Regions from separate parts of the Homo sapiens genome. Here regions 2, 3 and 4 are each linked to region 1. Evidence: promoter capture Hi-C in 16 types of primary human blood cells and fetal thymus (Javierre and others, 2016). All regions are on one chromosome and are shown on one strand. Each heading gives the region's core, a stretch centred on a gene start or on the middle of the fragment in contact. The rest is flanking DNA. Distances are from core to core; before and after follow the strand shown.

Region 1 (6,772 bases), core at 2,608-5,107:
TTGTATCTAAAATACTGAGCATTGCCTTAGTATTCATATTTGGTAGTCTTTGTCAATTTAATGCATTATTTACACTGCAATAAATGTCACTTTTGCATATAAGTTTCATTGAAAAATCACCCTTTACTGAGCACTTCCTTTTTTCTTTTTTTTGAGATGGAATCTCACTCTGTCACCCAGGCTGGAGTGTAGTAGCATGATCTCAGCTCACTGCAACCTCCGCCTCCCAGGTTCAAGTGATTCTCCTGCCTCAGCCTCCTGACTACCTGGGACTATAGGTGCATGCCACCACGCCTGGCTATTGTTTGTATTTTTAGTAGAGATGGGGTTTCACCATGTTGGCCAGGATGGTCTTGATCTTCCTGACCTCATGATCCACCCACCTTGGCCTCCCAAAGTGCTGGGATTACAGGCATAAGCCACCATGCCCGGCCACTGAGCACTTTCTTTTATGTAATGTTTAGGGCTGCTTTCACACTACAGTGCAGAATTGAATATTTGGAACAGAAACAGTATGACCTGCAAAGCCATATTATGCAATATATATAATTCTCACAACATCTTTGCAAGATGGACATCTTTACTCTTGTTTACTAAATAAGGAAGTGGAGGTTCAATAGATAACCTTTCACAGTGGCATAGCTGGAATATAAACAGAAGATGGGTAGCAGCCAGACCCAGTAGCTTTGCTGGTGTAATAAAGGCTCAGAAGAGTGTATAATAGCAGTAAGCCATTTGCATCTCCTCCCCACTCTTGCCACTCAGGAAAATTAGATCAAACATTTGCAAAGCTGAAGTATTCACAGTTGGAAAATTCAGACTTGTATACATCATTAATACTGCACATTCTAACAGTAATAAGGTTAATGGGTGATTTTGTTTCCAAAATTACAAAGATATTGTTGAAATCATTATTACTACCATAGGTATTATTTATCTTTTCTCTGAAATATTACAATTGACATGATACATCAATGTAAGGTAAGTCACAAATGAAATATATAATGATGTGCTATCAACTCCAAGCTTATATTAAATGCTAATATCTTTGTTTTAAAAGTGAATATTTTAACTTAAGGATCTTAGTAACAAATTGACAATTTTCCAGAAAACAGCATTTCTTTAGCTCTCCCTTAAGGATGTAGACTAGGCCCCCATGCCTCACACGAGCTACTGAGGTAGTGACCCTGGCAATGAAGCCACAGAGATTGTATTTTTAAAATCAGTACAAGAATAGAGGATGTCAAGGATTGGGTTTCACTTGCTCTCAAGTGTTGGCATGTTGTGTGTGTGTGTACATACACACACATAGACACTGAACCTGATCGTAGACCTGGAGGAGAGTTTGAGATGGTTATCTCACTCTACCACTTGATGACAAGTGAGTAAGTAGCCTGAGACTAAGGCAAATTCAAGGACTCTCTCAAGGTCAGACAGGTAGTTTAACTTGCTCACTCGGTTACCCAGAGCAGGGCGATGCTAAGTTTCTTCACTTCTCCATGTCCCAGTGTGCCTGGCCCGTTTGAGATATTACACACATGCTTCCTGCTTAACAACCAGTCTCCTAAAAAAAAGTTCATATTGACATGGGAAGTCTAGCAAATGCTTGAGAGATGAACCATAATTACATTACTTGGATGTGACTTTTCTAAAATGCAAGATATGATTGTTTCCTGTGAAGATGTACATGGACAGAAACAGAATGAGATGCACTTGCTGTACTGTGGTCCACTTTCATGAAAATGGTACCATGTGACTCTAAAGTAGGCAGACTTTAAAACAAAGGAGTGGGCCAGGCACGGTGGCTCACGCCTGTAATCCCAGCACTTTGCGAGGCTAAGGCGGGTGGATCAGCTGAGGTCAGGAGTTCGAGACCAGCCTGACCAACATGGAGAAACCCAATCTCTACTAAAAATACAAAATTAGCTGGGCGTGGTGGCGCATGCTTGTAGTCCCAGCTACTCGGGAAGCTGAGGCAAGAGAATCGCTGGAGCCTGGGGGATGGAGGTTGCAGTGAGCTGAGATCGTGTGATTGCACCCCAGCCTAGGCAACAAGAGCTAAACCCCGCCTCAAAAAACAAACAAACAACAACAAAAAACCCCAACAAACAAACAAAAACAAAGGAGTAAAACACACCTAACCTACTACAAATATATGGATCCAAAAAAGTGCTGACCTCTATGAGAGGCGACACAATGTTGCAATGAATTGTTATTCATCTGAACACCTATCAGACACATTTTAGTTGCGGACAAAATGACCCATCTCTTTTATCCCTGTGCCACAACATTGCTGGAAGCCCACATCTGCAAATGGCAGGGAAGCAACTCTCATTCTACACCCCCCACCCCCTACAGCCAGGACTTCAACATCACTCAATTTTGGCCCTAACCAGTGTGACTAATGATAATTGGTCATTCTCTGGAACTGGCTTCAAACCACCCACTTCATTCACCACTTCATCCACCCCAGTCATTCTTTGGACTTGGCTCCAAACCATTTTTGCTTTATTGAAATAAAGCAAAATACAACAAATTCACCCTAAAAGAATGATGATTTGCTTGTCATTAGAGAAGAAGTAAGTTTTGGGTACAGGTGGCCTTGTTGGCATGACTATGGGGCCTCCTTCCTCTGAGCAGTTAGGGAGGTCTGAGCAAATTGCTCAAGTCGGGCTACTTGTTTTAAATTTAGGTCATTAGATTCACTTTACAGTTGTACCTCAGTTTTGCTGCATGAGAAGCAGTGGTATTTACATCTGCTTAGATTTTCTCCTTAGCTTCCTCATGGATTTAAAGTAAATGAATAAGGAGAGAGGCACCTAATTTCTACCTTGGTTAAAGGGAAGTGAAAGGACAGGCGTCCCGCTCTCCCCAAGACTGGGAATGTGGAGCCTGACCAACATTTCCTGCTGCTTTGCTTGTGATTTCAGGCAAGCACAAGGAAATTGCTGGGAGAAGACACATTTCTTCTTCTTCTTCTTCTTCTTTTTTTGAGATGGAGTTTTGCTCTTGTTGCCCAGGCTGGAGTTCAATGGCGTGATCTTGGCTCACCGCAACCTCTGCCTCTCGGGTTCAAGCGATTCTCCTGCCTCAGCCTCCCGAGTAGCTGCGACTTTAGGCATGCGCCACCACGCTGGGCTGATTTTGTATTTTTGGTAGAGACGGGGTTTCTCCATGTTGGTCAGGCTGGTCTTGAACTCCCGACCTCAGATGATCCACCCGCCTCAGCCTCCCAAAGTGCTGGGATTACAGGTATGAACCACAGCGCCCGGCCAAGAAGACACATTTCTAAACCCAACTCAGCCTTTTGTAGAGTCCAGTTTTCTTTCTACACTTGAGAGGGCCTCAGAAACCCAGAAATTTTGCGGGTATGTGTGTGTGTGTGTGTGTGTGTGTGTGTGTGTGTGTGTGTGTGTGTGTGTGTATGGTCCGTCCGCAGACTCTTCAAGAACTCGAATGCCATTCTCCCTCCTTCGGATGGACAGCGCCCCGCGTGCCCGCACACACCCGGTTCACTTACCTGAGGCATCTGCGGATCGTTGATGTCCCAGCTGAGCTGCATCCCGTAGGAGCACACGCCGACCGCTTCCTGCACCGCGGCCGCCGGCATCTGCCCAACTCGCTCGCGCTTTCCGCCCAGGGTTCTGAAAAATAGAAGAAAAAAGGACAGGTGCGCCAGGTGGGTTTTTTTTCTTCTCTTTAAAGAAGAAAGTGGGGTGTGTGAAGGGGAGGTGCAGAGAGAGAGAAAGAGAGAGAGGCTGTTTAGATATCTGGAAGCTGGGGACAATGGTTATGGACCCGGGCGGGGCCTTGTCCTTGGCCGCGGTGCTGAACGTTCTCCACCCGAACGGCAGCATCGACCTCTGGCAGCTGCCCCCTCCTTTATAAAGATATACCTCCGGGGGGCTCCGCCCTGTCTCGCCTACCTCGCTAGCGCCCACGCTCCAGGGGCCGGTCGCCCCCTCCACCACAGTCCCAGGAACGGAGGTGGAGGTTAAACTCAGCCCTGGAAGCAAATGGAAACTGCAGCCAGAGGGTGGGGGTGGAGAGGGTAAGTAGGAATGTATCCTTTAAGTTTAAAACCTTATTATTTTCTTCTTTTCTTTTCTTCTTTTTTGTCTCACTCTGTTGCCCAGGCTAGAGTGCAGTGGCGCCATCTCAGCTAACTGCAACCTCTGCCTCCCAGGTTCAAGCGATTCTCCTGCCTCAACCTCCCGAGTAGCTGGGAATACAGGTCCGTGCCACCACCCTGGCTAATTTTTGTATTTTTAGTAGAGACAGGTTTTAGCCATGCGAAACCCTGACCAAGCTGGTCTTGAACTCCTGACGATCTGCCCGCCTGGGCCTCCCAAAGTGCTGGGATTACAGGCGTGAGCAACCGCGACCGGCCTATTTTTTTTCTTTTTTCTAAACGCGTCCAGCTTCCCTGATTTCGGAAAGGGGCTTAGATGGAGGCTTTCCAGCAAAGTCCCCTGAGAGCCAACACTCAATTCCAGGAGAGCATGGGAACCGTGCGTGGGCCCCTCTGCCGTCCGCGTGCGCCCTAGCCTGAATAACCGCGCCCACGCCTCCTAGTTAGGGGTCAGCCCATTTTGGGCCTCCACTGCCGGCTCTTCCCCTAACTATTGTGAGTGTCTCGCAGTCTTGGCTCTGCTGTTTGGGACGTGCCAGGGTGCGCCAAGCCTCCGCGTATGCTCGCGAGCCCAGGCGCCTTCACGCTCCCGGGGACTTCGGAGGGACCTGGCCCTGCAGGAACGGAGTCCTACAAAGTGAACCTGGAGGAGGTGGGGGGCGGAAATGAGCCCGGGGTAGGTGGGAGCCTGGGGTAGGTGGGAGCCTGGGGAAGGAGGGAAAGGGGAGAGGGGAAAAGTCCCAAAGAACTCGCTTTCTCCACTGCTTTGGCTCCCTCTGGGTCTCAGCTTCCTTATCTGTTTATCTGTTAAATAAGAGGTTGTGGTTCGGCGAGCTCTCAGTTGCCACCCACCCGAACACAAATCTTTTTTTTTTTTTTTTTTTTTGAGACGGAGTCTCACTCTGTCTTCCCGGCTGGAGTGCAGTGGCGCAATCTCGGCTCACTGCAACCTCCGCCTCCCAGGTTCAAACGATTCTCCTGCCTCAGCCTCCCGAGTAGCTGGAACTACAGGCGCGCCATCGCGACCAGCTAATTTTGTATTGTTAGTAGAGACAGGGTTTTACCAAGTTGGCCAGGATGGTCTCGATTTTTTGACTTCGTGATCCTCCTGTCTCGGCCTCTCAAAGTGCTGGGATTAAAGGCGTGAGCCACCGCGCCCGGCCCACAACTCTTAAAAAAAAACTTCACTGATATAGTCTTGGAAATATCACGACGAAATTGAATTTACTCCATTACAGTCTTGGGAGGCTTTGGAGGACTAGAGAATCGCGGTGGTGCGGAGGTGCGCAGGACAATGTGGGTTCTCCGGGGCTGGGACGAAACCTTCATCATCTGAGCAGCCGACTCGCCCAGGGCTACTCCGGCACATGGAGACCCTCAGTATATATATATATAAAAAAAACAAAAAACAAAAAACAAACAAAACAAAACAAAACCGATTGAAGTGACTAAAGTCACTCTTTGACTACCCCAAGGCCGGATTCTTGGCGGCCAGGGGAAAGGGCTTCTGGAATTTATTGCCCGCGTCCTTGTTTTGCAGCTGCACGCTTCCATTCCCAGCCCCAGCCAGAGAAGAGGAGCCAACTCCTCACGGCAGATCCCTTGATAGAGGAGGATGAACCGAATCCATGACCCTCCAGACCCGGGAAGCGACGCACCCTAGGCCTTGGCACCGCAAAGCCCGTGCTGAGCGCACGGACGGGTGCTGCCCGGGACTCGGCCAGGAGGGCGCCCATGCCAACGCCTCTTGCAGGATTAGTGCCTTCGGTTGGCAAAAGGCGGATAAAGGAAGAGCGAAACCACATCAGGAAGCTAAGGGTGGTCCACGCTCCCTGTCCTTTTACTTCCCGCGCCAAAGGCACAGTGAGGCTTGCTTAGAAAAGTCCATCCCGCGATTGGGCGCAGTGGCTCATGCCTGTAATCCCAGCACTTTGGGAGGCCGAGACGGGAGGATCGCTTGAGCCCAGGAGTGCAAGACCAGACTGGGCAACATGGCGAAACCCTGTCTCTTCGAAAAAAAAAAAAAAAAAAAAAGCCGGGCATGGTGGCGTGTGCCTGTAGTCCCAGCTACTTGGGAGGCTGAGGCGGGAGGATCGCTTGAATCCAGGAGGCAGTGGTTGCAGTAACCTGAGATAGCGCCGAGCCTGGGCGACAGAACGAGACCCTGTCTCAAAAAAAAAAAAAAAAAAAAGGAAGGAAAGAAAGACAGAAAGAAAGAGAGAGAGAGAGAGGAAGGAAGCAAGGAAGGAGAAAGAAAAGAAAAAGAAAAAAAAAAGAAAAGGAAAGAAGAAAGAAAAAGTATCCCAGTCGGTCAGAGAAGCCTGCCAGTGGCAGCGGACCAGCGAACTCTGTTGGGAAGAAAGGCCAACTTCGAGCAGTTCCTCGCGATTTTTTCCTCCTTTATCTTCTAGCTGGGGTCCTCCTCCCAGTCAAAGCCGAAGGGTCCTAGCAGAAGAAAGTGATTTGTTCATTCCCAGCCTCCTTTCTCCCGAAGTTCTCCCCTCCTAAAAGGTCCTGTCAGTCAAGGTTTCTGATTAAAATCACTCTCAAATGGTCGCCACTGAGGTCTAGCTGGGAACGAAGAGATCTGTCTACTCTTCACCCACGAGTTTCATTCACAGATTTTTCATCTTATTAACT
Region 2 (6,772 bases), core at 2,145-4,644, 500 kb before region 1:
ACAACACTGCCAGTTCCTCAGCCTCCAAACCCACTCCTCTTTCCACTAAACCACAGCCAACTCCAAGCATGTCCATCTTTACTTTAGAGTGGGGGTTATTTCCTTGAAGATATCTAATGTTGTAGATGAAAAGATAGAAATATTTGAGAGTTTAAAAACTAGTTTCCTTTTCACAAAATTGCCTCTTTACACGCACACACACACACACACACACACACACCCAAAACTTGAGCACCAAGATTTAGAGCGAAGCAAATGTTAGCAGTCAACTTTTAAACTTTTGGAAATGGTGTCATTAAAGGAATAACAGCCACAATAACAAGACTACAATAAAACAGTCAATACTCATATGGTGTGAATGAGAAGAATTGTTTGTTACATTCGCTCAGGAATGTGGGTCAACCTTCTCATGCTTCCCCTACAGCCTTGTCTGAAGCATTAACAAATGGCTTTTGTGTCCCTGTCTATGTGACTATGGTATGTAACTGGACAAGCGGCTACTTCACACAAGAAGGGTTTATATATAAAGGTTTATATCTACCCATGGCCCCAGACAGGGCCTTCTGCCCCAGATGGAATGAAATGCTATTTGAGAATTACTGTGGTTTGGTTCCCACCCCCGCCGCCTTAGCCCTGTTTTGGGAAGTCACTAACTCCAGCTGACTGGGCTTTGCCCTTTGTTGGCAATGAGTCCCAAGCCAGATTTTCTGCTAGCATACCCTAATGTGCTCACTGGCTCCTTAGGACTACCCAGGGTGTCTTTGTGGGTGGCAGTGCTTTTTATTTTTCAAATTTTGGTGGAAGGGGGAAGAGGGGGCTCTACTATTCTTTGTAAATGAGGCCATTTCAGGTAAAGCTATTTTTGTGACCATTTTCATCCCCTTTTCTCCCTCAAGCCACCTTTCCTTCCCCTCTTCACTCGCTCGTTTAGTAATTATGATCATTTCTGCTTTCTCGATTGTTAGAGTCTATTAGTATATTTTCCAACTTGTCTTATGTTCTACTGTTTAAATGTCTTTATATAGTGAAAAATTCCTTCCAAAGCTGTCTCTAAATTTTCAGATCTTGGGCTCAGCAATTTCTTAGGTTAAGCTTTGGGCAAGATATAGAAGTGGTAATTACAGTTAGTCCAAAGGATAAAAACTGCAAACCAAAAGAATAAATTACGGACAACCTTGTGAAGGGATTTTATTGCTTTCTCTGTGTTTTAAAAGTAGATATCTTAACCTCTGCATAAATAAAAGGAAACATGATTGGAAAATCAACAATAAATCAACATATTCTTAACTTGTAATTAATAATATGGAAATTCATCTGTCCAAAAGCTCACCCTTCTAGAGGTGTCGTTTTATCTAGCAGCTTTGTTTTGAAGCAGGGAAACTGAGGCCAAACGTTGGTTTTCCATGCTTCTTCAGGGTTAACTAATTTCTGAGGGAACTAAAGGAATATTTGAGAATTCACTTCCCTGTTTTATGAGGCACCGGGTGTGGGGTTTCCCTACATCAAGCCAAGAATCAGGGGGATTTTTTTAATCGGTAAAATAATAACAGATTTTTGGACAAAGCAGCCAAAGTAGTTGCTGCTTTTTTTTTTTTTTTTTTTTTGACACAGAGTCTCGCTGTGTCGCCCAGGCTGGAGTGCAGTGGCGTGATCTCGGCTCACTGCAAGCTCCGCCTCCTGGGTTCACGCCATTCTCCTGCCTCGGCCTCCCAAGGAGCTGGGACTACAGGTGCCCGCCACCACGCCCGGCTAATTTTCTGTATTTTTAGTAGAGACAGGGTTTCACTGTGTTAACCAGGATGGTCTCGATCTCCTGACTTCGTGATCCACCCACCTCGGCCTCCCAAAGTGCTGGGATTACAGGCGTGAGCCACCGCGCCAGGCCAGTTGCTGCTTTTTAACCAACTGAGCAAGTCAGCCATGATAGCTAAACTAGTAGTGGTTTTTATTTGTTTGTTTGTTTGTTTGTTTTTGAGACAGAGTCTTGCTGTCACCCAGGCTGGTGTGCAGTGGCGAGATCTCAGCTCACTGCAGCCTCCGCCTCCCTGGTTCCAGCAATTCTGCCTCAGCCTCCTGAGTAGCTGGGATTACAGGCATACATGACCACTTCTGTCTAATTTTTGTATTTTTAGTAGAGACCAGGTTTCACCATGTTAACCAGACTGGTCTCGAACCCCTCACCTCAGGTGATCCCCCCGCCTCAGCCTCCCAAAGTGCTAGAATTACAGGCGTGAGCCACTGCGCCCAGCCTTAACTAGTAGTCTTAAGCACACTCAGCCTGAGTTAGTGAGTCAAGTTCTCCTACCTAGCCCAGTGGTTCTCAATTTCTCACTATTATCACTCCCTCAATATAAAGTCTAACAAGAGAAATTGAATACGAAGGAGTTACATTTTGTCAGGTAGGGTTAGTTTGAAGGACCACAGACCATTGTAACATCTGAGATTTGTTTCATCTCCCAGGAACCAATTTTTGCCCTCTTGAAGACAATATCACCCCAGTTGAGAATGCATGCTGTGGCCTAATTCCGTATATCAAAATGAGTAACCAGTCCAGCCCTACTCTGTGTATAAATCTTTTATTGGAACTTACTTCACTGTTCTGTAATTATATTTGTATTCGTCTGCCTCCCACCAGGCAATAAAATTCTCAATGGGATTTTTTTTTACTTCCTAGAAAAGAGCTCAAAAGCATTGAATAAATGAATGAACAGATGAATAAATGAAATATAAAGATTGATTGGCACAATCCAGAAGCCAGTATGTTCTTAATAGCTCTGCCTCTTCATTCCTTGACTAACTGATCTGAGGTTCAAACAGTAAAGGCATCTGCAGGTGTTGCCTCAGACAAGTGACTACTGTGAAATGGCACTAGGTTTCCAAACATCCACAAAGTCTTGCCCACTTTTTGGAGGATAACAGGTGCAGGAGGCAGTGACAGAGATTTGATGTTTGTTTGATGTCTTTGTGACCATTTCTCTACCAGATACAATAGGGTGTAGGAAGTAGTAATTATGTTGTCTCAAAGCAGCATTGTAAGTTTACTTACAAAAATGAACACTTAACCTTTCTCACTGTTGTGCCTGGACTGGCTGCCTAGAGTGATGGCCGAGAGCAGGGCTAATGGTCCAGGCAAGGCAGAACAGGGCACCCTGCAATTAGGAGGAAGGATATCCCTAAAGAAGATGGTGGTGGGGGATGCCAGAAACCCACTCCTGCCAGACCCTGAGATCCCACAGGATGCAGGGAGACTCAGTGGGAACAGCCAAATCTTCTCCAACAGTATTTCCTCCATTAAACCAGGAGTCTCTCTGTCTCATTCTCAACAGATCCATCACCGCTCATGTTCCAAAACAATCACTCAGCCAAAGTTCAATCAATTTCAGTGGTTGCTGCTGCAGAGTAGGTTATTGTAGCTACTAACAATTACAGATAAGAAACAGCATATAATAATAATAACAACAAAAACAATAGTATATTCATGCAGCATTCTAACATTTGCAAAGTGTTTTCATAAATAAATGGAATTTTAATTTCACCACACCGTGAACAATATAGACTAGATGGGTATTAACTGCATTTTATAGACAAGAAAGCTGAAGGCAAATGACTGGAACTCCTAGGGTCGTAGGCTCTTCATTCTAGTGTAACAGATACCTGAGTTCCAGATGAGGCACTGCCGATTACTCACTGGTGGCCTAAGCCCCAACACTTACCTGCTCTCAACCTTGTTTCCCTCATTTAAAAAATAAAGATAGGAAAAACAGCACGTATCTCAAAGGGTTGCCAAGAGTTTAAATGAGGTAAAGCCTATGTGGCACTGAGTGCAGTAACTGGCAAAAGATAATAGCTAAAAAAAAAAAATAGTTATTAGTATTAGTACTTGTATTTATTTTTTTATTCCCTATTTTGTTAAGAAAGTACTTGTGACCGGGCGCGGTGGCTCACGCCTGTAATCCCAGCACTTTGGGAGGCCAAGGCAGGTGGATCACGATGTCAGGAGTTCGAGACCTGCCTTACCAACATGGTGAAACCCCATCTCTATTAAAAATACAAAAAGTAGCCGGGAGTGGTGGTGCGCGCCTGTAATCCCAGCTACTCAGGAGGCTGAAGCAGGAGAATCTCTTGAACCCGGGAGGCGGAGGTTGCAGTGAGCCGAGATCGTGCCGTTGCACTCCAGCCTGGGTGACAGAGGGAGACTCCGTCTCAAAAAAAAAAAAAAAAAAAAAAAAAAAAAAAGAAAGAAAGCACTTGTATTTAGATTACATAAAATATTAAGCAATATGTGCAAAGCTAAAATGATTCAATTCCAGCAGCTCTCAAGGGCAAAAGAAAAATATTCAAATTGTCCTAGCTATTTACAAAAAATATATATATTTTTGACTCGTAACAAATAAAGACATAGAGAAATGATCCCATTAAGGAAATATAAAACATCTTCCTTAAAACCATATTCTTTATATGACTTTCATCAATAGACTTCGCATCTCCTTTCCTCAACTCCATTTCATAAAGAGGAATCTGGAGGGTAACAGTCATTTTCCCAAAGTTAGGTAAGAGGCCATTTGCCCAGCCATGTAAAATAATACATCAGCCAAAACAGGACAATTCAAAATATTAGCTTCATAAGAAGATGGGTTTCTGTCTGTTTTGTTTGCTTACTGTATCCTCAGGGCCTGGAACAGTTCCTGACACATAGTATGTTATCAGAAAATGTTTGGTGAATATTGAAAATATTGAGTGCTTGAGCATCTTTTTTTTTTTTTTTTTTTTTTTTTTTTTTTTTTTTAGAGACGGAATCTCGCTCTGTCTCCCAGGCTGGAGTGCAGGGGCGCAATCTTGGCTCACTGCAAGCTCCGCCTCCCGGGTTCACGCCATTCTCCTGCCTCAGCCTCCCGAGTAGCTGGGACTACAGGCGCCCACCACCACACCCGGCTAATTTTTTGTATTTTTAGTAGAGACGGGGTTTCACCATGTTAGCCAGGATGGTCTCGATCTCCTAACCTCGTGATCTGCCCGCCTCAGCCTCCCAAAGTGCTGGGTTTACAGGCGTGTGCTTGAGCATCTTAATTCATCTTCAGATATTATCAAGGAGATTGTTCATTGAGTAATTTTCTGCTGTTGTTCCATTCAATCATTCACTTATTCAATACACACCTATTAAGCACCTACTATGTGCCAACTCTGGGCTGGGTGCTGGGCATAGAAATGTCAGAAGAAGGCCCGGTGTGGTGGCTCATGCATGTAATCCCAGTACTTTGGGAGGCCAAGGCGGGTGGATCACCTGAGGTCAGGAGTTTGAGAACAGCCTGGCCAACACGGTGAAACCCCATCTCTAGTAAAAATACAAAAATTAGCTGGGCGTGGTGGCAGTAACCTGTAATCCCAGCTACTCAGGAGGCTGAGGCGGGAAAATCTCTTGAACCTTGGAGGTGGAGGTTGCGGTGAGCCAAGATCGTGCCCCTGCACTCCAGCCTGGGCAACAGAGTGAAACTCTCGTCTCAAAAAAAAAAAAAAAAAACTGTCAGAATAAGATCACCTGCTATAGGAGTGTACCTCTGATATGCAGAGAGGAAGGAAAAAGCAAACATATAGGGCAGGTGTGGAGGACAATGAGCTTGCCCCTCCCCTCCGCTTCTCCCAGGCATTGCCTTGGGCTCTTCTTTCTGCATAGATTTTGAAGAAGTTTGAGTCTGTAACAAGCTTTCTATTTCAAAAGAAAAGAAACAGGAGCGTTTTGTGATTTTATTTCCACTCTGACCCACCGGCTCCTGCACTTCTACATTTGTCGTTGTGCCATTGCTGCCACTGTTGTTCTTGTCCAGGGAAACACCGGTGGCCAACCCAGATCGGATACAATGGTGCGGCTCTGGACTGAGCCTCCAACCACATTAGCCATGGGCAGCATTGTTGCTGCCGCTGCTGTTATTTTAATTATGATTGTACGTTAACCACCACCTTCCTTCCTCTGCCTCCCTTCAGCTGCAATGATGTATGTTACTTTTTGGTAACTGGATTTCATTAACATTTATGAACTCTCATAAAGTAGTAGAAAAAGCAATTTGTGTGGAAGAATTTTCCACCTCATTAAACAGTGTTCTTTTGGGGGTCAAGCTGATATTTTTTTTGTTGTTAGATTTTTTTTATAGGTCCTTTGTCCTTCCCTAAGCCCTGGGGGATGAAAGGAGAGCCGTCCACCCAGCGAGGGGCTTGTGTGCCCTAGAGGGCGCTGGGCCCCGCGCGCTTTCCTGGCTGTCCCCGCCGGCTTTCCACCCTCCCCAAAGCCCAGGTGCCCACCGTGGGTCGCTGCGGCCTTTCCCCTTCTTGGCCAAATCCGATTACTTCGCAGCCTGCAGATGGCATCGCCGGCTAAGGGCAGCCTGCGGCAGGTCCCCGAGCCTGAGCACTCCTCCTATCTGGGGCCTGAGAGGACGCTCTGGGCTTTTTCCCAGGCCCAGGGTGCGCGGCCTGCTAGCGCCTTTCGAGGCACAGTCCCAAGATAGGCTCTTGTCCTTCGACGCCCCCTTGGCACAAGCGCACTGGCGCCCTCCGCTCAACCCACCTTGCCTTTGGGGCGGGCTTCAACCCTGGGAAGACAGGCCTGGGGGAAGCGAGAGGAGAGGCCCGAATAGAGGTTCCGGCTCAATCTTTCCCAGACGGAGGCCTGGTGTTTCCAGCTCAGTTGCATCTTCCAGCCGCGGGCTCCTGGCCCAAACAGAATGTGTTTGCTTTCACACCGGGACGGCAAGCGGAGTCCGCCTCAGTGAGCAGCGAG
Region 3 (6,772 bases), core at 3,097-5,596, 410 kb before region 1:
CATGTTGGCCAGGATGGTCTCTATCTCTTGACCTCGTGATCCACCCACCTCGGCCTCCTAAAGTGCTGGGATTAGAAGCGTGAGCCACCGCGCCTGGCCTAGTAGAACATCTTAACCTGATTACATCTGCGAAGACCCTATTTCCAAGTAAGGTCACTTTCAAAGGTTCCAGGTAGATGTCAATTTTTGGAGACTACTCCTCAACCCGTGATTGCCTCCTCCACCAAGTCTCTCAGTTCCAATAACTCCAGACTCTTCTCTTTAAGGGAAGAGTTATTCTAACCCTTAGAATAACTTCTAACCCTTAAGGGAAGAAGTTATTTTATATTAGCATGGTGCTTTATTTCATTTTGTTTGATGTTTGTTTGTTCCGCTCTTCAACACGTGTTACCAATTACCTTTAGTGAATTCCCTCCATTGAAATAACATTATGTGGTTTCTTCTTTCCTGATTCAACCCTGACACAGTGCTTGTTACCGGGAGAGGTTCTAGGAAACAAGACTATCAAAAATGAGAGTCTATAATCCCAGCACTTTGGGAGGCTGAGGCAGGTGGATGGCTTGAGATCAGAGTTCGAGACCAGCTTGGCCAACATGGAGAAACACTGTCTCTACTAAAAACACAAAAATTAGCCGGATGTGGTGGTGCACACCTGCAGACCCAGCTACTCAAGAGGCTGAGGCATGAGAATCGCTTGAACCCTGGAGGTGGAGGTTGCAGTGAGCCATGATCGTGCCACTGCACTCCAGCCTGGGCCACAGAGTGAGACTCTGTCTCCAAAAAAAAAAAAAAATACTGTAACGCAGAGTGACATGTGCCTGTAGTCCTAACTACTCAGGAAGCTGACACAGAAGTATTGCTTGAAGCCAGGAGTTTGAGTCTTGATATGGTTTGGATCTGTGTCCTCACCCAAATCTCATGTTAAATTGTAATCTCCAGTGTTCGAGGTGGGGCCTGGTGGTAGATGATTTCTTCATGGGGACAGTTTCTCATGGTTTAACACCACTGCCCCTTGGTATTGGAAGGTGAGTGATATCTGGTTGTTTAAAAATGCACGGCACCTCCCCACCACCTCTTCCTCTTGCTCCCAGCCATGTGAAGTGTTGGCAACCCTGCTGCCCTCCGCCATGATTGTAAGTTTCCTGAGGCCTCCCCAGAGGCCAAGCAGATGCCAGAATCATGCTTCCTGTACAGCCTGTGGAACCGTGAGCCAATTAAACCCCTCTCTCTCTCTCTCTCTCTCTCTCTATATATATATATATACATATATATATTACCTAATCTCAGGTATTTCCTTCTAGCAATGTGAGAATAGACTAATACAAGGCTGAAGTGCACTATAATCGTGCCTGCAAAGAGCCTCCATCCTGGGCAATATAGCAAAACCCCATCTTTATAAAAAAAAAAAGAGATTCTGGGATTAGCTTGGAAATGCCACTTGCCTTAAAAAGAGTGCTGAGCTCCTTGCAAATGGGACAGTAATGCATGTCATGCCATAGCATTATGATTAATTGCAGTATCACCTCTAGTGATTGTGATGAAATGCCTAATAAAGCAACTATTAGGAGACCAGTTAGCTGCTGCACTTGACCACTTCGTTAGTAATGATTACTACCAGGGCTGTGGACTGTTGTATTAGTTTTTCTTTGCTAGATAATGAAGTACCACACACTTGGCAGCTTAAAACAACACCCACATTGGGCACGGTGGCTCACGCCTGCAATCCCAGCACTTTGGGAGGCCGAGACAGGTGGAGCGCTTGAGATCAGAAGTTCAAGACCAGTCTGGCAAACATGGTGAAACCCTGTCTCTACTAAAAATACAAAAATTAGCAGGGCATGGTGGCGGGCACCTGTAATCCCAGCTACTTGGGAGGCTGAGACAGGAGAATCGTTTGAACCCAGGAGGTGGAGGTTGCACTGAGCCAAAATTGTACCACTGCACTCCAGCCTGGGCGCCTGAGACTCCATCTCAAAACAAACAAAACACCCATTTATCAGTTCACAGTTCTGTAGGTTGTAAATGCAGTATAGTTGTGTCCCCTGCTCAGGGCCCTACGAGGCTAAACTTGAAGTGTGGGCTGGGAGCTGTCATCGGCCACTATCGGCTACCCACATTCCTTGCCACATGGCTGCCTGTCTTCAAAGACAGCAATGGAGAATCTAGTTTGCTTTGAATTTCTCTCATGCTTTAAATCTCTGCCTTCCTCTTTCTCTGACCCATAGACCAGGATTTAGAGGGCTGATATGATTAGGTCAGGCCCACCTGGATGATCTCCCTTTTGATAAACTCATAGTCAACTGATTAGTACCTTTAATTACATCTACAAAATTTTTTTTGTCTCAAAATATAACACAATCATGGTATTAATATCCCATCCTATTCACGGGCTCCACCTACACTTTAGGGGAGAAAATTATACAAGTTCTCTACACCATGGGTGAGAATCTTTGGAACCTTCTTAGAATTCTGCCTACCACAGATGGTGTATTTTGGACTACATTGAAGAGCTTACAGGGGAACAAAAAGATAGGCTTAAAACACTGAACACAGAGAACCAGAGTGTGTCTATGGTACTCCTTAAAAAATTTTGCTATTTTGTGTGGCTGCAAGGTTACCCTCATTGAAAATAAGAACTTGTGTGGGTTGCAGAATTATAACATAAGTTGACTTCGCAGACTTGCCAAGTCTCCTGCCAAGAGCACTGATTGGGAAGGATAGACACATCTGGGTAAACTTAGATAAAGCTAAGAATTTTGAATCCCTGATTCACTGTGTATTTCTTGCCAGGAGAAGCAACGCTTCTTCATATGTGTAAGGAAATTAGCTTTCTCTTGCTTGAAAACCTTATAATGACTTTGAGGCAGTTATCTTGCAAGAGGATGCCTATTCTCCCCAATATCCGCTCCTTCACTCTTCATTGCTTTCAGACTTTTAATGGAGTCAGAGCTCAGCCTATTTCAGAGAGAAAAGTACAACACATGTCCCAGGAAGAGATAATTCATTTTTCAAAAAATTGCAAGCTTTTGCTAACATATCTTGGCAGGAACCTAAAAAATATATGTTGGGATGGATTCTAAAGGTTATAGAACAGATTAACATTGCATTTGGTCAGTTTATTAATGGGGATGCGCTTACTGGGGAATCTGGATTTCATGTGTCCACTCAGGCATCTAGAATTGGCTGTAACAATTTGATGGATTCAGTGGGCAAAACTTGGATTCAACGGTTGCCTATATCCAATAAAGTTAAGTTGTCAGACTTTCCTGGTGTGATGTCAAGGGAAGAATCTAAAAGCAAAAGGGAAAAGGAATGCTGCAGTGGACAGAAATGTTAACCAGGAGCCACCCCCGCCCCAAACTCACACTCTGAGATGGCCCAGAGGATGTTCTCTTCACTCTGTGTTTTGATATGAACCATGAAGTGTCCCAGATATTACCCCACTTGCACAATTATGTATTAGCATACGTGAATATGACAGAAAACACATGGCACCTGGGTCAGGGAAAACTATATTGATAATCTTTCCTTGAAGAGGATCTTGATGTCCGCCTCTACTAGGTCCACCACTGTGCTGCTCAAATCTACTTCATCTACATCTGGGGAGCAGCTCCTCCAGCCTTCCAGTGGGCCTCTCTTCCTGGAGGAAATGTAAAAGTAGATGGCTTAGAAGCACAAGCTACAACACCTGCTGCTGCAGCTGGTCTCAGGGCAATGACTGATACTTTTCATTTTCCTCCCCTAATCCCCAGTCTAGATTCCCCCTCACCTCTGCAGCTTACCTCCTGGCTTATCCAGTGGTGTGACCCTGGTCCTCATTCCCATGGGGTCTGAACTCTGGCCACCATGCCCTTCCCAAAAGTGTTCCTGCACTTGTCTGTCATCACAACTGGCCACGGGAGTACCATGGGTTGCAAAAGTGGATCAGTGGTGCCACACGTCTTCCCTACCCTCATAGTGGAACCACAGCCTTTCTTCTCCTGCTGATCAGGGTCAATTAGCCCTGCCAAGACTGTGACTCTTCTCTTTTATTGCTGGTCCCAATTATAAGAAGCCCAAAATCCCCAGGCAGCAGGCATAGCTGCAATGTAGTGGAGACTTTTGCTGTGTCCCCTGATAAAATTATGCCCCCTTTTGACCAGGATTTCTAGCACTGCAGAAAGAGAGGCTGCAGGGACAGGAAGCAAGACACTTCTGCTTCATCCCTTGGTTCATGACCAATATATTCTTCCTACTGGGGAGCCATCTCCTTATCAATGCTGTGTGATTCAATGTGTATGTGCCATCCTGGAGATGATGTCTCATTCTCATGGAGTGTTGCCTCTAAGCTGGTACTTTAACGGGGCCATCTACAAGTTATTCCAATGCCTTATAAGTCTGTAGCTTCTGGATGATGTGACAGGTGATACAGTCAGTTGACATCATGGTCATAGGCTTGGCTGGTCTGACTCAATCCTGGTGAATCAACATTCCTTCAACCTTCAAATAGTGGTACCAGAGGAGGCTCCATGGCAGGAAAGGTCAACCTATGCCTGCAACACATGCCTATTCCTCTTAGAACAAATCTCTGTCTTCCCAGAATAGAAACAGCCCAGTGTAGTCAACTTGCCACAAAGCCATCAGTTGGTCTTCTTGTGGAATGGTGTCATATCAACAGATCTGCATCGGGCTCCCTTGCTGAAAGTTTTGACATTCCACAGCAGCAGTAGCTAAATCACCCTTGGAAGTTGTTTTTCTGCTCACTCATGTGGCTGCTGTCAGTTGGGAGCTAAGCTGGGATACCTCGGTTCTGCTCCCCATGGCTGTTTTCCCCACATGGTGTCTTGTCCTCCAGGGCCTCCTTCTACAGCAGGATAGCCTTGCAGAATCGGGGCAACAGGTTTGGAAAGAACAAGCCCAATGTGCAAGCACCGATTAAGCCACACTTGCATCATGCTCTGGTGTCCTATTAGCCAAAGCAAGTCACATGAATGAGAATGAGCTTTTCCTCAAAGCATAAGAAACTAGGCCAAAGCAAACAACAAAAGGATCTTAGACAGACAGACACACACACACACACACACACACACACACACACACACACACAGAACTTCTCTTTCTCTCCTTTTATTTATTTACTTGACCACATCATCTGCTAAAACGTTAAAAGCAAATAAGATGCATTTTCCATTTTGTGATTTTAGAAAAATTTACATTATTACAATAGTAGTACATTCTTGCCTGTGAGTGTAGGTGATTGATTGTATGCAATGCAGTTCTGCTCAGAGCATGAAAGAGGCTGCAGGGAATTACAAAAGCAATTTCATTTACAATAGTATCAAAAAGAATAAAATACTTGGAAATAAACTTAACCAAGAAGACAAAAGACTGTACGCTAAAACTTTAAAACATTGCTGAAAGCACTTAAAGAAGACACAAATAAATGGAATGACATCTGTGCTCATGATTGGAAGACTTAGTTTTGTTAAAATGTCAACACTACCCAAAACAATCTTAATGTAATCATTTAGCAAATGATTATGACTATGATTTCATATTTGTTGGGGGCATAAGAAAATCATATGCATTATGATTACATTAAGCAAACAATGTAATCCCTATTAAAAAATCCAATTAAAAATTTATCCTAAAATTTATGTGGACTCTCAAGGGACCCTGGATAGCCAAAATAAGCTTGAGAAAGAAGGACAAAGCTGGAGGCATCACACTTCCTGATTTCAAAATATATTACAAGACGAGAATCGCTTGCCAGGAAGCGCAGGTTGCAGTGAGCTGAGCCTAGATTGTGCCACTGCACTCCAGCCTGGGCAACAGAGCAAGACTGTCTCAAAAAAAATTTTATGTATGTATAAATTTTATGTATACATAAAAATTTTTATACATACATAAAATTTTTTAGACAGTCATATATGGTAACAATAATCAAAACAGTGTGGTACTGGCATAAAAACAGACACATAGACCAATGGAATAGAAGAGAAAGCCCAGAAGTAAACCCTTGCCTATATGATTGAATGACTTTTTACATGGGTGTTGAGACCATTCAATGGAGAAAGGGGTCTTTTCAACAAATAATATTGGGAAAACATGAATGTCCACATGCAGAAGAAGAAAGTGGGACCCTTACCTTACACCGTTTGTAACAATTAACATAAAATAGATCAAAGACCTAAATGTAAGGCCTAAACTATAAAATTTCTAGAAGAAAACATAGAGGGAAAGCTTTACAATGACATTGGATTTGACAATGATTTCTTGGTTGTGTTACCAAGAGCACAAGCCACAAAAATAAAATAGATAAATGTTTTGTTTGTTTGAGACAGGGTCTTGCTCTGTCACCCAGACTGGAGTGCATTGCCATAATTATGGCTCACTGCAGCCTTAACCTGCCAGGCTTAAGCAATCCTCTCATCTCAGCTTGTCGAATAACTGGGATCACAGATGCATGCCACCACACCTGGCTAATTTTTCTGTGTTTTAGTAGAGGCAAGGTTTTGCCATGTTGCCCAGGCTGGTCTCAAACTCTTAGGCTCAAGCAATCCACCCACCTCAACCTCCCAAAGTGCTGGGATTACGGGTGTGAGCCACCAGGCCCAGCCATAAAATAGATAAATTATACTACATTAAACTTAGAAACTTCTCGGCATCAAAGGACACAATCAACAGAGTGAAAAGGCAACCAATGGAATGGGGAAAAAATGTTTGCAAATCATACATCTGATAAGGTGTTAATATCCAGAATACATAAATAGCTCCTACAACTCAACAACAA
Region 4 (6,772 bases), core at 2,914-5,413, 370 kb before region 1:
CATTATAACCTTATAAAATACACAGGGCAAGTTTATGTAATCTCCCTTAATAGTTGGTAGAGCTGAGACCCAAAGAGACTCAGTGATTTTGCCAACATCACACATCTACTTAGAGGTAGAGCCAGATTTCGAATAAAAATATTCCAGTTCCTATCCAGTGAACCTCTATTGTTCAACGTCCCATTAATGGGTTATACTCAATATCCAGCTACTCAATTTCATATATTTTATATGATGTTATTAAATAATAACAGCTCTTATTATTAAGTGCCTGTTATGTGCCAGGTAGCATCATACACTGTTTTTGTTTGTTTTGCTCTTTAGAGAGCAGATCTTGCTATGTTGCCCAGGCTGGAGTACAGTGGCTATTCACAGGCTGGATCACAATGCACTGCAGCCTTGAACTCCTGGGCTCCAGTAATTCTCCCGCCTCAGCCTCCCCAGTAGCTGGTACTACAGGTGCATGTCATCATGCCCTGCTATTACAAGTCATTATACAAACCTCATAAAGTTTTGTTAGCTGCATTTTACTTCTTTTGGAAGGTAGCTTATTCGTCCAAGGTTGCCCCACAGGGGACATTTAGCAGTGCGTGGAGACGTTTTTGGTTGTCACAGTGGGAGGGGGAGGATGCTACTAGCATCTAGTGGGTAGACGCCACGTATGCTGCTAAACGTGCAACAATGAACAGGACAGGCCCCACCACAGACAATTATCTGGTCTAAAATATTGATAGTGCCAAGGGTGAGCAACCCTGCTTTAAATGATGATGACATAGTATGTGTGAAAACCCTCTACAAATCCATACTGCTATTTTTACCATTTTACAAGTAGATTTTTCTAGTATGACAGCTATTCCTGGCAATGTTAGCCAGCACTAGGCCCTCAGCTCATGTTTGTTGGGTAGACCAGTGCATGTCAAAGATGATTAGCAAACATTATGCTAAGTGAAATTAGCCAGTCACAAAAAGAAAAATATTGCATGATTTCACGAACATGGGGTATTTAAAGTAATCAAACTCATGAAAACAAAAAGCAGAATGTGGTTGCCAGGAGTTGGGGGGAGAGGAAATGGAGAGTTGTTCTTTGATGGGTATGAAGTTTCAACTTTGCAAAGGTGAGAAAGTTCTAGACATCTGTCATACAACAATATGCAATATAGTTAACACTATATTGCACACTCAAAGGTGGTTCAGATGGTAAATTTTATGGTAGGTGTTATTTACACAATTTTTAAAACTTTAGGTGGGCGCGGTGGCTCATGCCTGTAATCCCAGCGCTTTGGGAGGCCGAGGCAGGAGGATCACTTGAGGTCAGGAGTTTGAGACCAGCCTGGCCAACATGATGAAACCCCATCTCTACTAAAAATACAAGCAATTAGCTGGGCATCGTGGCACATGTCTGTAATCCCAACTACTCGGGAGGCTGAGGCAGGAGAATTGTTTGAACCCAGGAGGCAGAGGTTGCAGTGAGCTGATAATTGCACCACAGCACTCCAGCCTGGGCAACAGAGCTAGACTCCGTCTCAAAAAGCAAAACAAACAAACAAAAAAACCTGTTTTAGCAAGTCTTCAACATTAGTGATTAGGGGTAGAATTTGAAGTTTCCAGGTTACTGTGGCAGTGTGTACACCTGATTAAACACTACTCTTCCAGCTAATTTGACAGAAATGCAACAATATATTAAATATGGAAGGAGAGGGGCAGGTGATGGGAGAGAGAAGTTGTGAAAAGCCCCACAATGTGTCCTCATCCTGGAGACACTGAGTATGTGCTTGAAAATAGGCTGGTTCCATCGTGTAATGGTTAGAACTCTGGACTCTGAAAATAGGCTGATGTATTGGACTAACCTGTAATTGTGAGAAATAATTTATTTGCAGAAGATAAAAGACTTAGAGGACATTTATAAATATAAATGTTATTAGAATTAGGTGACCTTCAAAGGAGTACTGAATACGCCTGTTGGTTTTGGTCACAAAGTTTCCCAAATCATTTTTGTTTTGCTTCGATTATATTTACCTAATCCTGATAAGTTTCACCCGAATGAATAAATGTTATCGCTCTGAGCTTCAAAGTGCAAATATTTTACCAGCCTCATTGAAAAGCACAAATATTATCTTTAGCATAGATTGGTTTCTCAGGGTAGAAAACTGCATATAAGAACAAATCTCATGAAGTTAAGGTTATCTCATTCCCTATTTAATTTGTCCTTTAGTTGAATAGTGAGTTAGAGCTAGAGACATGCTTATAAAATTTTGTTTTCTGATGTCTTCTCTGTAGGACAAATGGAAGGAAAGATTTTTGGAAGCAGCTTCTTGTGTCCGACCCGCTGTGATCAGCTGCTACTCCCAGGTCTGGGGTTAGATGGCTTTGTGACTTTCCTTCTCTGGATGGCATTTTGCTTTCCTCTGTAAAATGGTGTGATGAATGAGATGACCTCTAAGCCTCTTTCCATGTCTGTCACTGGACTGTCCTCTTATGTAGCCATTTAAGTTTTCTAATTAAAAAAAAAAAATTTAAAATTTGATGCTCAGTTAAGTTACATCAAAATAATTAAAATGAAACTACAGGTTGAGTATCCCATATCCAAAACGCTTGGGACCAGAAGTGTTCTGAATTTCAAGTTTTTTCTAGGTTGGAAAATTTGCATATACATAATGAGATGTCTTGGGGATGGGACCCAAGTCTGAACATGAAATTCATTTATATTTCATATACACCTTATGCACATAGCCTGGAGATAATTTTATACACTATTTTAAATAATTGTGTCCAAGAAGCAAAGTTTTGGCTGCTGTTCGACTGAGACCCATCACATGAAGTCAGGTGTGGAATTTTCCACTGATGGTGCCACATTAACTCTCAAAAAGTTTTGGATTTTGGAGCATTTCAGATCTCAGATTTTCAGACTAGGGATGCCGAACCTCTATGTAATTTTGCTTTGAATGTGTCTGGGACACTGGGGAAATTTTGATTTTTAAGATTCATCTCTAATTCTGAAAATAACCTGGTTGGGTGCAGTGGCTCACGCCTGTAATCCCATCATTTTGGGAGGCTGAGTTGGGCAGATCTCCTGAGGTCAGAAGTTCGAGACCAGCCTGGCCAACATGGTGAAACCCTGTCTCTACTAAAAGTGCAAAAATTAGCTATGCATGGTGGCACACACCTGTAGTCCCAGCTACTTGGGAGGCTGAGGCAAGAAAATCGCTTGAGCCTGGGAGGCAGAAGTTGCAGTGAGCCAAGATCGCGCCACTGCACTCCAGCCTGGGTGACAGAGGGAGACTTCGTCTCTAAATAAATAAATAAAATCTAAGTGATGGCACGTCACCCCGGGGCATCTTTCCACTTTCACATTCTCTCCTGGCTGCTTTACCTGCCCTGCCAGCACAGTCCAGAGGGCCCCCACTAGCATTCCACATGCCAGGCCTTGCTTAGATGGAAGGCCTTTTCTTCCATCTAATCTAACCTGTCTCTTGTCCCATTTTTCCAGAACCTCTATTGGATGGCATTTTCTAGAACCTCTATTGGTTACTTACGGCATAATGAGATATATAGAGGTTATTGCTAGGTCATCCTTCTTGACTCAAATCTCATTTAAGCAATTAGCTTCCTTATGAAACTTCATAAGGGTCATTGTGGATCCCTTGGCTGGCTGATGGGGCTGAGATCTTGGGATAGGCAGGTTTTTCCTTGCGCCTCGAATGCCACGTTGAATACTCCTCATGTCTTTGGAGACATGTCCTTCCCTTCGAGCTGCTCCCAGTCAGGTGAGGAATAAAATGCTATGATGGCGTGAAAATTCTCCCTTGGTCTCATCCATAGATTTGCAATCACCTAAAAAAAAAAAAGGAAGAGTGTGCCAAGCCACCCCATATAGAGCCACTGTGTGGCAGCACTGCCTCTCGCCAAAGCTTGGGCCACTCGGTGTCAGGCAAAGTGCAGTGGGGTGAGTTTCCAGTTCACTGGCGGTACAGGTAGCCCCTAGAAGCGATCGTGTGCAGTGAGAATAGCTAGCATTTCAGAGTGTTCACTATGCGTGAATACTGCTCAGAGTGCATTCTACTTATTAACACATCAACTCACAAAACAGCCCTACTGGTATTATCTTTATTTTACTGACAAAGAAATTAAGACAGATAGGAAAAGTGATTTGCCCAACGTCACACAACTAGGAACTAGCAAAGCCAGGATCTAGACCCACGCAAACCTCTCTTTGAAGCTCATGCTTTGCTACCAAATATCGTGTCATTCTGGCATTCACGAGGAAATCTTGAAAATAAAGCAAAAAGTTGTAAAATGGTATCAAGTCCACAATCGCTGTCTTGATGTAGTGCAAGCACAGTGGTATACAAGGGACATCCGTAGATACAGAGGAGAGGGTCAGCAAACCTTCTCTGGTAAAGGCCAGATGGAAAACATTTTAAGCTTCGGTGGTCAGATGTGGCAACAACTTAGCCCTGCCATTGTAACGTGAAAGCAGCCATAGGCCCTGTGTAAACAAATGAGGACGGCTGTGTTCCAATAAAATTGTATTTATGGACACCGAAATTTGAATTTCATATAATTTTCATGTGTCACAAAACATTTTTCTTCTTTGGATTTTCTCCCAACCATTTTAAAATATAAAACCATTCTAGCTGAGAGATTGTCTAAAAACATGCAGCGAGCCAGACTGGACCCCCCCAGCTGTGGTTTTGCTGATCTCTGGTATAGAGGAAAGAAGGGTGGCTAAACTTAATTCGGTGAGTGCCTACCATAAGCAAGGTGTTGAAAGTGCAGTGACCAGCAGACCGAAATAGTTCTCCATGGGACATTATGTTGAGTGAAATAAGCCAGGCACAGAGAGACAAATATTGCATGATCTCACTCATGTGGAATCCACATAGAAGTAGAGAATAGAACAGTGGTTACCAGAGAATGGGAAGGGAAAGGAGCAGGGGGGTGATGAGAGATGGATCAACAGGTGCCAAGCTATAGATAGAGAGGAAGAATAAGCTCTGGAGTTCTACTGCATAGGAGGAGGATTACAGTTAATAATAATGCATTGTATATTTCAAAATACCTGGAAGAGCAGTTTTTGAATGTTCTGATAACAAACAATAAATGTCTAAGGTGATGGATATGCTAATTACCATGATTTGATCATTACACAATGTATACATGTATTGGAACATCATGCTGCATCCCATAAATACGTATAATTACCACCTGTAAATCATACATTTAAAAATAAAATATTAACTTTTTGTTTTAAAAATAAATAGTCCTCCATGGACTAGTGGTAGAGCAAACAAACAAGCAATTGTAGGAGTACAAGGTTTTATTAGGGCAGGTGAAGGGCTTCTAACCCAGACTTGGAAGAGCAAGGAAGGGTCACCAGGGAAGCAGTGTCACATAGGGACCTGAAAGATGAGTAGGAACTCAAGACAAGGCAGGGGGAGAGAATATTCCAGGTAGATGGCCTATGCAGTGAGAAGAGATAAGCTTGAGGCTAGGCACAGTGGCTCATGCCTATAATCCCTTTGGGGGGTCAAGGAAGGAGGGTCCCTTGAGCCCAGGGGTTCAAGACCAGCCTGGGCAACATAGTGATACCCCGTCTCTACAAAAAAACGATTTTTATTTTTTTATTTTATTTTATTTTTTTTGAGACGGAGTTTCACTCTTGTTGCCCAGGCTGGAGTGCAATGGTGTGATCTTGGCTCACTGCAACTTCCACCTCCCGAGTTCAAGCGATTCTCCTGCCTCAGCCTCCCTAGTAGCTGGGATTACAGGCATGTGCCATCATGCCCAGCTAATTTTGTATTTTTGGTAGAGATGGTGTTTCTCCATGTTGGTCAGGCTGGTATCGAACTCCCAATCTCAGGTGATCTGCCTGCCTCGGCCTCCCAAAGTGCTGGGATTACAGGCATGAGCCACCTCGCCCGGCCCCAAAAAAAATTTTTTTAAGGCTGGGTGAGGTGGCTCACTCCTGTAATCCCAGCACTTTGGGAGGCCTAGGCGGGTGGATCACCTGAGGTCAGGAGTTCAAGACCAGCCTGGCCAACATGGTGAAACCACTTCTCTACTAAAAATACAAAAATTATCTGGGCGTGGTGGTGGGTGCATGTAATCCCAGCTACTTGGGAGGCTGAGGCAGGAGAATTGCTTGAACCTGGGAAGCAGAGGTTGCAGTGAGCTGAGATCGCACCATTGCACTTCAGCCTGAGCAACAAGAGTGAAACTCTGTCTCAAAAAAAAAGAAACAAAATCTTATGTTTAATTAGGCAAGCAATGTGGCTGGCACCTGTAGTCCCAGCTACTCAGGAGACTGAGGCAGGAGGATGGGTTGAGTCCAGGAAGTTGATGTGGCAGTGATTGCACTCCAGCCTGGGCACAGACCCAGACCCCAACTCTAAGATAAGAAGAAGAAGAGTTAGGTTTGAAAACCCCAGGCTGCCATTAACTCATTACTGGATATCAGGCAAGCTAGCATATCTTTGGGCGTAATTTCTTCATGTGCAAAGTGGATATAATGTCAATGCTTACCTCTCAGGCCATCAGTGAGAAAATGGAGACAAAATGTGATAGAATAGTCGTTATGGGTCATTGTCAGTGTTCTTTATTTGTAACTGAATCAATTGGTGAGAATAATCTGCAAGATTCCTTTCAATCCTGAAATACTATAAATTCTTGATCTTTATTTTTAAGTAAAGAGACCCCACTATCGAGGAGTTCTGGGTGCTGTCCACGTAAATGGTGACCTACTTCAGGACAACTGTGATTGCCTGAAGTTGAA

Evidence for each region. The method cuts DNA at HindIII sites, captures the fragments that hold promoters and counts their contacts. A CHiCAGO score of 5 or more calls a contact.
Region 2: a fragment that was not itself captured here is called in contact with the fragment with the promoter of GCM2 in region 1 in 2 of 17 cell types (total B cells and naive B cells); the score reaches 6.7 in total B cells.
Region 3: a contact is called between a fragment that was not itself captured here and the fragment with the promoter of GCM2 in region 1, in 1 of 17 cell types (erythroblasts). The highest score is 5.8, in erythroblasts.
Region 4: a contact is called between a fragment that was not itself captured here and the fragment with the promoter of GCM2 in region 1, in 2 of 17 cell types (naive B cells and total B cells). The highest score is 5.9, in naive B cells.

The regions. Positions count from the first base shown.
Region 1 is chr6:10,878,184-10,884,955 of GRCh38, forward strand. It overlaps GCM2 (glial cells missing transcription factor 2), which reads right to left and starts at 3,858. Exons shown (of 5, transcript NM_004752.4): 1 at 3,521-3,858. The coding sequence starts at 3,610. RefSeq lists a silencer at 3,753-4,047. The HindIII fragment of the contact is 9,517 bases long and covers 1,025-6,772 here.
Region 2 is chr6:10,375,102-10,381,873 of GRCh38, forward strand. No RefSeq gene overlaps it. Among named protein-coding and RNA genes, the nearest start is that of TFAP2A-AS2, 26 kb to the right of the region's middle. The HindIII fragment of the contact is 4,608 bases long and covers 1,091-5,698 here.
Region 3 is chr6:10,467,091-10,473,862 of GRCh38, forward strand. It overlaps LINC02522 (long intergenic non-protein coding RNA 2522), which reads right to left. Exons shown (of 4, transcript NR_183333.1): 2 at 3,783-4,945; 3 at 3,139-3,640. Among named protein-coding and RNA genes, the nearest start is that of LINC02522, 11 kb to the right of the region's middle. The HindIII fragment of the contact is 2,650 bases long and covers 3,022-5,671 here.
Region 4 is chr6:10,506,810-10,513,581 of GRCh38, forward strand. LOC101928146 (a long non-coding RNA gene) reads right to left here. Exons shown (of 3, transcript XR_001743961.2): 2 at 3,534-3,831; 3 at 1,851-2,494. Among named protein-coding and RNA genes, the nearest start is that of GCNT2, 11 kb to the right of the region's middle. The HindIII fragment of the contact is 514 bases long and covers 3,907-4,420 here.